Linked DNA regions of Homo sapiens: regions 2 and 3 are each linked to region 1. Evidence: promoter capture Hi-C in 16 types of primary human blood cells and fetal thymus (Javierre and others, 2016). All regions are on one chromosome and are shown on one strand. Each heading gives the region's core, a stretch centred on a gene start or on the middle of the fragment in contact. The rest is flanking DNA. Distances are from core to core; before and after follow the strand shown. Region 1 holds the start of THEM5 (thioesterase superfamily member 5). Region 2 overlaps SNX27 (sorting nexin 27). Region 3 overlaps S100A10 (S100 calcium binding protein A10).

Region 1 (3,606 bases), core at 363-2,862:
CACCCGCCGCCTGTTGCCTGGGGCTGCAGCATCAGGGGTGGAGTTGGACAGCAGGAAGAACTCGCTGAGAACTGGAAGGCGGTCTGTGAAGTTGCTTCTCAGTCTTAGAACACAGGGAAGGGCGGCTGGGGTGTGTGTACTCATGGTCCTGTCCTTACCTGAGGAAACTGCCAGTCCAGATGGGAGCTTGAGTCCCCGGATGTGGTCTCTGTTGGACTTGAAGGAGGGCAGCTTGATCCAGCCGCTAGACTTAGTCTTCTCCAGAAATTCTTGGTACAGGCTCAGCATGTCCGAACACCAGCTGGCATTGGGAAGAGCATAATCCTTCAAGTCTGTCTTCTCTGGCAAGAATCTTGAGAACTGGGCAGGAAAAATCAGAATGACTAGACAGCATCCTGGAGGGGGGCTGCTGCCTGGGCTCGGGACCTCTAAACAGCTGTTCCTGGGTGCTGGGGCTTCTCAATCCCTTCTGCCAGAGTATCGATCCAAGGGAAAGGGCCCATATTCCTTGCAGGGGGGCTGCGGACCCCTATGGGTGACGGGGCATAAGGATGCTAAAGAGCAAGGGAAGGGCGGGCAGGGAGTGGGGCCAGAGATGATGGGCATGCTGCTCGATGTGGTGCCTTACCCTTGTTCTGCTTAAAACATGTGAGCAGTTCTTTAAAGTTGACAACTGCTCATATTAGCCTCACTGTACAGATGGGGAAACTGAGGGAATACGGCCAAGGTTGCCAAGCATGTGACTGTGAGAGCTGGTGGTCGCACTAGATGCTGTCTCCTCTGCAGGGCAGGGTCACAGTTGTTGAGGACCATTCTAGCAACCCCCACCTCAGGGGCTACTCCAGCTCTGCCCACTGCTGTGGGCCTGCCTGGGCAGGGTGGCTCCTTTGAAACACATTTGGGCCCCCACAGAGGTGTGGTGCCATGGCTGGGGCACAGACTATGTGCCCATCTGTGTGACGTAAGGAAGTCCTCTGTAGCGTCACCTGCTCATACACCAGTCACAACTGTAGACAGCATGTGAGCTGCTTGCCAATGCCACAGATGGGGTCCTCTGTCTGGGGATACCCCAGCTTTGCTGCAGTAGTCTGAGTCCCACAGGAGGAAAGTCATTTGTTGGTGGCCACACAAGACACAGAGCCAGATGCAGGTCTCCTGGTAGTTTTAGTTTTGAATGGGGGCAACTTGGTATCCCAGAGCACTTTCTCTTTGCCAAATCAAATAGCTCCTCCGAACACTGCCCACCTGCCCTGGCCATGGGCTGGGAAGAGGAGATTTGGGGTGCTCCTTAAGCCCTAGGCTCCTGGGAAAACACTGCCCATCTGGCTGAGCTGGGAACTCACCATGGAGTCTGTGGAGGATCCAAATGCTGAGGCAGGGTTGAGTCTGGGCAGGATACGGGGGGCCTCAAGAAGGCCTCTGTGGTGGCCAAGTCTTGCTGCCACCTGGAAGCATCTCCTTATCATGGCCAAGTGCAAGGATCCAGCCCTGCTTGGATGGAGGGTCTTGGCTGACTCCCAAGGAGTGCTTTCAGCTGCACTTGGGGCCGCTTCTCTCCCTTCTGTTGCAGGCTTTCTTTCAGAGAGCTAGGCGAGGCTGGGCTGGTGTGCTGCAACACCCACAGATGCTCGGCGCCTTTAGCTGGTCTAGGAGCCCCACCCAGTGCTTGGGGAGGGACAGATGCTGCTTGGGCATGAAAAGGCAGCAGGACTGGCTTGAGTTGCAAAAGGAGTAAACAAGTACATAAACAAATAGTATGGGGTATATAGAGCCTTGGAGAGCTGCCTGGGGGTTCTGAGGGAGAATCCAAGAATATTTCCAGAAGGATAAGGGAAGCCTGTCCCTTGATTGGAGGGTGCTGGTGGAGTGTTCTTGGTATGTGCTCTGCAGTGTATACCGGACTCTGAAAACTCTGGTATGATTTTGTGACTCAGAAAACCAACTCACAGGCCGGGTGCGGTGGCTCACGCCTGTAATCCCAGCACTTTGGGAGGCCGAGGCGGCGGATTACGAGGTTAGGAGATCGAGACCATCCTGGCTAACACGGTGAAACCCCGTCTCTACTAAAAAAAATACAAAAAATTAGCCGGGCGTGGTGGCGGGTGCCGGTAGTCCCAGCTACGCAGGGGGCTGAGGCAGGAGAATGGCGTGAACCTGGGAGGTGGAGCTTGCAGTGAGCTGAGATCTAGCCACCGCACTCCAGCCTGGGCGACTGAGCGAGACTCCGTCTCAAAAAAATAAAAATAAAAAAATAAAAAAAAAGAAAACCAACTCACAGCCTTAGACACCTCTTTTTTTTTTTTTTTTTTTTTTTTGGTGAGACGGAGTTTCAATCTTGTCGCCCAGGCTGGTGTGCAATGGCGTGATCTCGGCTCACTGCAACCTCCGCCTCCTGGGTTCAAGTGATTCTCCTGCCTCAGCCTCCTGAGTAGCTGGGATTACAGACACACACCACCACACCCAGCTAAATTTTGTATATTTTTTTTAGTAGAGATGGGGTTTTGCCATGTTAGCCAGGCTGGTCTTGAACTCCTGACCTCAGGTGACCTCCCAAAGTGCTGGGATTACAGGCGTGAGCCACCGCACCCGGCCAACACCTCTTCTTATATCCCGGACAAGGGTTAGCACAGGAGAGTTTCACCTGCTGGTCTCTGGCTGGGGATAGGAGTTGGAGGTGGGGGAGGGCTTGACAGGGAGGGCAGAAAATAATTTGGGAGGAAACAGCTTGGCAGGGATACTCTCATGTTTTGGGAACCCCGTGCCCAGGGAGTGGCTCATGTCAGCAGGCAGTGCTGGGAGTGAGGTGGGCGCGGCAGTGAGGCTTTGTTGAGTGGGAAGGGACACTCAGCCAACATCTGCAAGGCAGTGGGATTTGGTGGTGGTGTGTCTTCTATTGAATTTAAACTGCCAATTTTCAATTAAAAGTCTCAGTTTTAAATTGACTAAAATAAAAGCATGTTCTAAAGATCAGTCCTCGCGCAGTGGCTCAAGGCTGTAATCTCAGCATTTTGGGAGGCCGAGTGAGACCTTGTCTTAAAAAAAAAAAAATCAGAACTGTGCAAAGGTGGAATCATAACAGTGATGATGACGATAATAATAGTTGTGATGATTATGACATTTTGGCAGGTTCCAAAAGATGAAACTGATTTAATGCGGAAATTTAAAAGATTTGGTTCACCCTCTGTATTTGGTTGCCCTAGAAGAAGACTAGAATATAAATATTTCCCCTCACCTCCTGCAAAGGTTTGAATTAAACTTCCTCAAGGACTGGGGGAACCATTTTTTTTTGTTGTTGTTATTTTGTCAGAGTCTCACTCTTATTGCCCAGGAGTGCAGTGGCACCATCTCGGCTCACTGCAACCTCTGCCTCCCAGGCTCAAGCAATTCTCCTGCCTCAGCCTCCCAAGTAGCTGGGATTACAGGCGCTTGCTACTACGCCCGGCTAGTTTTTATATTTTTAGTAGAGACGGGGTTTCATCATGTTGGCCAGGCTGGTCTCAAACTCCTGGCCTTGGCTGATCTGCCTGCCTCAGCGTCCCAAAGTGCTGGGATTACAGGCATGAGGCACCACGCCCAGCTGGAAGTTTTTTTGGTTGATTCAGCCTC
Region 2 (3,606 bases), core at 800-3,299, 220 kb before region 1:
AAAAAAATCAGGGAACCGAAAAGTAAGATTTGAGCATCAGTTTTTATTTTTCACAAATGTGCGTTTCATAAAATTGATTGCATTAACAGAAATTTTGTTTTGGTATTTAAGATTTTATTTTATTTCATTTTTTAAAAAACAGGATCTTCTTTTGTAACCCAGGCTGGAGTGCAGTGGCATGATCTAGCTCACTGCAGCCTTGAACTCCCAGGCTCAGGTGTTCTTCCCAGCTCAGCCTCCCAAGTAGCTGGAACTATAGGCACGTGCCACCAGGCCTGGCTAATCTTTTGGTATATTTCGTATAGAGACGGGGTTTCACCATGTTGCCCAGGCTGGTCTCAAACTCCTGAACTCAAGTGATTCATCTGCCTTGGCCTCCTAAAGTGCTGGGATTACAGGTGTGAGCCACACTGTGCCTAGCCTGTATCCAAGATATTAGTATTTTGGCCAGTCTTTAAGGTGTCAGCTTTTTCCACTTTTGTAAAAAAAAAAAAAAAAAAAAAAAAGGATATTCATGAGTTAGCTAAGGTTCCTAGGGATATATAAGAATGTATGGTGATTTCTAAACTTGCTTTTTCATTTTTTTTCTTATACCATCAAATCATTTTCTCAGAACTAGTAAGGCCAAATACTTAGATAAAATCTTTTGCCAGTTCCTTACTTAAGATTTCCATTTCTTCTTTAATCAAAATCTATATACATAGTACCTCTTTACTTCTTAAACCTTCTGATATAAATGTTTAGGAATTGTTCTACATGTTTTATTACATTAATCTTCACAGCAACTCTGTTAGGAACTTATTGTCTCCATTTACACATGTGGAAAGCAAGGCTAAGAAAGGTTAAAAACTCAGTCAAGACCAATTCTGGTACTAATAGTCAGGATCAGGATTTAAACTCCTGTAAGTAGCTCCAAAGCCCATTTTCTTTCCATTTTACCATGCTGGTATATGATCAGAGTTGATCACGTTTTTTTTGTTTTTTTGTTTTTTTTTTTTGAGACAGAGTCTTGCTCTGTCCGCCAGGCTGGAGTGCGGAGTGCAGAGTGCAGTGGCGTGATCTGGGCTCACTGCAAGCTCCGCCTGCCGGGTTCACGCCATTCTCCTGCCTCAGCCTCCCAAGTAGCTGGGACTACAGGCGCCCACCACCATGCCCGGCTAATTTTTTGTATTTTTAGTAGAGACAGGGTTTCACCGTGTTAGCCAGGAAGGTCTTGATCTCCTGACCTTGTGATCCACCCGCCTCGGCCTCCCAAAGTGCTGGGATTATAGGCTTGAGCCACCGCGCCCGGCGCCTGATCATGTTTTTTGATCACAGGTCTGACTGAATGAATTCAAAGCCCAAGTTTCCATCAGTGAAAGGGGCTCTTTATTTTTTTCTATAGCTAGCTTATTGTAAAATTACTGATTTTTTTGTATATAAGTTAGACTTGTAGGATGTGAAATGTCAGGAGTGCTGAATTTACTGGCTAGATTGTTAAACCCTAAATTAAATCCCAGGAGGCTAGCTGGGGGGTCTCCTGACTGTTCTGTTTATATAAATGGATATTTCAGATACCAGACTCTGACAGAGACAATTTCAGTGACTGAAAAGTTTATGGAAGGCTTGTTACTAAATTTAGTATCATTTTTCAGGAAGGAAAATCCCTAATGGTTTGGAACAGGACTGAAAAAGAATTTAACTCTAAAGGGTAGATAAGCTTTAAATGTTAAATTGATTAGAGGTCAGGTGTGTATTTCCTACCTCTCTTGGGATAGCCATGGGAGGGAACCTCCAGGCCTGCTGCCCAGTGGTTTTTGCTGAGAGAGCAGCTGGATCAGCATTCTGGAAGGTAGTTTGGTTTGCTGAGGGAGTCTTGTGAGACTCAGCATCTTTCTTGACAAAATACTTCATCTAAACCTTGTACTTTGTTTGCCTTATTTCAGCCTTTTGTACACAGCAAAACAGGAAGGAAAATTAGTAGGCTGACCATATAATTATAGGTGTATATTTTTTAGTTTGGACTGATTACACAGGACTCTAAATGAGATAGCATAGAGCAGGAAAAAAGTTGATGGAATCCCAAGAGGTTAATTGAATTGGAAACTAGTGTATGTGAAGAGTAATACCATTTAGCTCCCAAAGTAATGAAACTTGGCATAAAGGAAAATTAAGTTGACTGATTTGAGATATGGAGAGAAATTGGATGTAAATGTAAAGGAATTATCTTCAGTCATAACTTTTTTTGAGTCTCTATTTACAAATTAAGAGAATTTATTTTGTGAAGGTTCTTTTAACAGAATTCCTTTGAGGTTTAAAAAGGACAAAGTACAATTCAAGTGGCAGGGCTGTCAAAAGCCACTTTGATTGAATTGTATACATGCTTAGTTAGAATGAGGAAATTGGATTGTTTGACTGAAAAAGCTTTGTTTCCTCCTCAGCTTCAGCCTCTTTCCATGTGCGTTCCTGAAGCTATGTGTGGGATATTAGTATAGAGGAAGGGGAGGTCTTCTCACCTCTTTCCATTTTTCCCCCCGCCATAAGTTCACAAAGTTTTTCACATTAGAAACTGTTAAAACATAAACAACTTTTCTGGAACCAAATTAATCTTTTGACTTCATGGTTCATACCGTGTGACACTGGAGTTTGGGCAGGAGGGTGGAGATACAAGGTGTTTGGACCCTTCTGGTTTATGGGATTGTCTTTTTCCCTTTTTCCCCTTAGGAACCACGTGAATGTTGAGGGGGCGACACACAAGCAGGTGGTGGACCTGATTCGAGCAGGCGAGAAGGAATTGATCTTGACAGTGTTATCTGTACCTCCTCATGAGGCAGATAACCTAGATCCCAGTGACGACTCGTTGGGACAATCATTTTATGATTACACAGAAAAGCAAGCAGTGCCCATATCGGTCCCCAGATACAAACATGTGGAGCAGAATGGTGAGAAGTTTGTGGTGAGTGTCAGCCCAACTCGATCCTCGAACATCTAGCTTTGTTTCCCCTAGTCTTATAATTATGAAACTATTATAGTGGTAGATAAAAGGCTGCAACCTAGGTCAGTTTGTCTACCAGGAGGATGAGTTCACACATAAATAAAAGACACTGACCCTGATTTATTGCAGGGGGTGAATTACAGTAGTGGAAAAGAGTCCTACTCAGCTTGAGTATAATTCCATTTTATTTTTAGATAGTTTCAAGTTTGCATTCTGGTTTGTCGTAAACGTGTGAGTTTTTGTTTAGTTTCTTTTTTGTTTGTTCTTTTGTTGGTTGCCGTATCTCTTTGCTAATAGTATCTTATTTACTGTTGATTCTGTGGTGCTATAGGGCAAGATTAATGTAAAAGGATGGTGTCCTTCAAGATATTTGGGTAATAGAGAGGTTCACCCATTTCAGAACTTAGATGTCTCTACTCTTCTTTCCACATCATGTTCTTTTTCATTTTCTTTGGAGATATCCGTGTGAATGATTAACTGTGGTTTTTCCCACGAGTTTCCTGAATGCAATTCCCATGAGCTGTTTCACACATTTCTAATCTGTTGCTGTTGTAGCTATGCAGGAAAGCCCATCTTGAATTTTTAGTGATGTGTGCTAGCCCCTTTGCTGAATGCCTTTGTTCTTCAGAGCC
Region 3 (3,606 bases), core at 487-2,986, 130 kb after region 1:
GAAAAGCACTGATTTAACTGGGCAAAACTGTGCCCAGTAATTATAAACTTACCATCTATTCCTGTAGAGCCTTCTCCTAATCCTTCAAGTTTGAGTCCTTCATATAGACACAGCTACAAGGGCAGAACAATTAGAGAAGTCAGACTCCAAGCCTGAATGAAGAGTGTTTTCTCATTTTGCCAGTTCTGTGAGAAAAGCTCTGCTGTGTAAGAAAAGCTCTGCTGTGTGCTGGCTGCCCAAGGGCAAGCTGCCTCTTGGGGAACAAGAATTTCTGAGGGAACAACAAACATTCTGTCTCAAATTTGGAACTAAAAAAGAACTTTATTTATTGAGGGCAAGGGGATGCAAACAATACAAAAATCAAAAGCTTATCTGGTATTTAACTTTTCTTTCTCTGCTTGTCAAATGAGAGTTAGATTTTATTTTTACATTTGCTAAGTGTCCTGATCTGCTCATGAAATCCTTCTATGGGGGAAGCTGTGGGGCAGATTCCTTAAGCGACCCTTTGGGACAACTCTTATCAGGGAGGAGCGAACTGCTCATTTCTGCCTACTTCTTTCCCTTCTGCTTCATGTGTACTACAAAATAGTCATTGCATGCAATGGTGAGGCCCGCAATTAGGGAAAAGAAGCTCTGGAAGCCCACTTTGCCATCTCTACACTGGTCCAGGTCCTTCATTATTTTGTCCACAGCCAGAGGGTCTTTTTGATTCTGAAAAAAAAAAGAACAAAGGCAAGAAATAGAAGTCAAAGGTTGCAATGAGGAGCTTATTTGATTTGTACTGCTGAGAACTGTGTATATATCTCCCAATTACTTGAGCTCTTGTTTTAGGTCATAAGCAACCTTTGGAGTTCATCTAAATGTATTTTTTTTTTTTTTTGCCTTGTGGGAGCATTTCAGTAATTTCATATTTAGATTCTGCCTAAGAACCACCCTAAGCTCCTCATTTTATGGTTTAAACTTACATTCTCTTATTAAAATTTTATTCCTAATGGCATGGTCAAATCCCTTACAAAGGAAACTCCTTATGAAAAGATATTTATGATTTAGGGAATAAGTTTTGGATCACTGTCCTATGGATTTTAAAGAGGTGTTAATGATGCCATGGGTTGGTTTTAGGTTTGGAGAAGGCAGCTCTCATTCTTGGCACAGCTGAGGACAAGCTAGTGTGGCTTCATATCATATTAGCCACGTGATGCTGAGTGAACCACACAGCTTAGTGGGCCTTTGTGTATCAACGATGAATTGAGGAGGTTGGACTATAATGTTTCTAGAATCCTTTCATTCTTTGAGTTGGTAAGTCTATGCCATCCTATACTCTTCACTGGATGTTGTACACTGGACCAGTTTCAAAAGGAGTATGTGGGATGGAGTCTTAAACTCCCCATGACTCTCAGTGCCTGGTAAGAATGTATGGAACAGAGATGGGCAGGCAAGACCCCCTTTGCTTTTATCTTGCTTACATGGTGATTGGCTTCAGCACTCCTTTTTGTAGTGATGCTGGTCAGAAGCGGTAAGGTGTGGTTTTTCCTGTAGGGTCCATGCCATCAACCAGAGAGAGAAATATGGCCTATTTGAGGTTGTTAAAGGGCTCAGGTAAACTATTTATGAATTCTGATGACTATATTCATGAGTGAGGAAAATGATACGCAGTGTTTCAAGTGTGCTAGATGTTTCTAAATTGCACTCAGAAATTCCTAAAAGTATAGCAGCAGCATTTCCCACATGAGCACTGCAAACTCCTACTCTAGCTAAACGTGCTCTATGCAGCTCTTGGTGGGTTTCAGCTAATTCTGGCTTCACCCTCAGCTTCCTGGCTGTGGTCAGAATGAGTGAAATCTGGATGACATAAGAGGTCTACTTTAGAAACAAAATGCTCTGTTAATGCAGTGAGTCTAGATGTTTCCAGAATTATGACTCTGTGCCTGGAATAAATTACCCTGCCATGGTTAGTGCTCCACACTACATATACCCTTTATGTGTCTGATGCCACAAAGCCTTTAGGAAGAAAGGGTCTGTGTCTTACATGATACTCACTCTGGCTCTTAACAACACTCTTAACAAGTGTTTAGTGTACTGAGAATGCCTTTGTCTATAGGACAGGCAGGCTTACAATGAGCACATTTTGTCCTTGCATCTTAATGCTTGTCTTGAATGATCATAGAAAGTGAAAGTGACCTTGCAGATAATTATGTCCAGCCCTCTCTAATTTTACAGGGGAGGAAACTGAAGACTAGAGAGCTGAAGCAACCTGCCCATTGTTAGTTAAGGCAGAGCCAGATCTTCTAACTCCTGGTCTGGGGCTATATCACAGGACTCTACAAAAGCAGAGGACCTGCATATTCTAACTCATTCTGGGATAGCATTAGGTAATAACTGCAGCTCTGAGAGAGCAGTTAGGCTATTTATATCTGTTTATTTAACTGATATTGATGACATACGAATTATAGTATACTAAAAAGCCTCATGTTTATTGATTGCAGGAGTCAGGGGCTGGACTAATGTGCCGTTTACCAGTCAGATGACAAGAGGCAGGACCCAACGTTTTACCGTATCTCCTCTCACCCTTTACAGGTTAATGCATTATTCAACACCAAGCACAGAAACAATCTTTTCAGGTGACTACAATTGTGGTAGGGAAAGAAGGGCTTGCATTTCAGTCTACTATTTTGTCATGCAATGTTGCACCTTCAGTTGAATTCAACAGCCACCTCTCGAGAACCTGGAATATAAAAGGACAACTGTGCCTTGTGGCCCCATGTCCTGAGTGATGTATCTGAGCTGATGGCAGAGTCCTCTTATAGGTCTTCATGCATCTCTCAGTCTGTCAAAGGTGAGACATAAATTCAAACTGCTCCTGTGCTGTCAGAGCATTATTATGTGAAAAGCAGTTATTTCTGGAGTGATATGTGGCTTTTATTCAGTAGATGACTGACACTGCTCCTTTGTAGTATTAGAAAAAGAAAAAACAATCCCTTTATCTGAAGAGATTTAAGAAGGGAGATTCGAGTTGCTCAAAATGGAATGTGACCAGGATGTGGCATCTCCACCACCAGGTTTTTGGACCTGAAGGTAGCCATTTTCTGGTTGACTACTCTTTTGTGAAAAGCTTTCTTTCTCCCAACTCTGTCCCCAACATCGTCACAACAGACACAGATAACCCGATGGAATTTTCCAACAAACAGCTCATATTGTGGTTATTTGTATGCAGTCTTATTTCACCTGCAGACTGTAAGCTCCTTGAAGGTTGGGGCTGTGTCTTCATTACTTTGTTTCCTCAACAGTATCTTACAAATAGCAGGTACTCAATACTATTTAATAAATGAATGAATGAGGTCATTCATTCATTCCTTCAGGTGACTACATTCATTTATTCACTAGTGGTGACCTCCACAGGGAAGGGATGGAAACAAGAAGGAAAAGGAACCAAGGCCTAGAAGCATTGACTTTTATGTCTGGTTCTTTGTAAGCTTTTCAACACTTACTTCCAAAAATCCAGGGAACTCCTTTTCCATGAGTACTCTCAGGTCCTCCTTTGTTAAGTAGCCTTTATCCCCAGCGAATTTGTGAAATGTAAACATCATGGTTTCCATGGCGTGTTCCATT

What was found. The method cuts DNA at HindIII sites, captures the fragments that hold promoters and counts their contacts. A CHiCAGO score of 5 or more calls a contact.
Region 2: a fragment that was not itself captured here is called in contact with the fragment with the promoter of THEM5 in region 1 in 1 of 17 cell types (M1 macrophages); the score reaches 5.5 in M1 macrophages.
Region 3: a contact is called between a fragment that was not itself captured here and the fragment with the promoter of THEM5 in region 1, in 1 of 17 cell types (non-activated CD4 T cells). The highest score is 5.7, in non-activated CD4 T cells.

Annotation. Positions count from the first base shown.
Region 1 is chr1:151,852,100-151,855,705 of GRCh38, forward strand. It overlaps THEM5 (thioesterase superfamily member 5), which reads right to left and starts at 1,613. Exons shown (of 6, transcript NM_182578.4): 1 at 1,344-1,613; 2 at 159-360. The coding sequence starts at 1,466. The HindIII fragment of the contact is 9,012 bases long and covers 1-3,606 here.
Region 2 is chr1:151,636,185-151,639,790 of GRCh38, forward strand. It overlaps SNX27 (sorting nexin 27), which reads left to right. Exons shown (of 12, transcript NM_001330723.2): 2 at 2,704-2,935. Among named protein-coding and RNA genes, the nearest start is that of SNX27, 26 kb to the left of the region's middle. The HindIII fragment of the contact is 704 bases long and covers 1,698-2,401 here.
Region 3 is chr1:151,982,614-151,986,219 of GRCh38, forward strand. S100A10 (S100 calcium binding protein A10) reads right to left here. Exons shown (of 3, transcript NM_002966.3): 2 at 3,486-3,606; 3 at 302-711. The coding sequence ends at 550. Among named protein-coding and RNA genes, the nearest start is that of S100A10, 9.4 kb to the right of the region's middle. The HindIII fragment of the contact is 2,742 bases long and covers 366-3,107 here.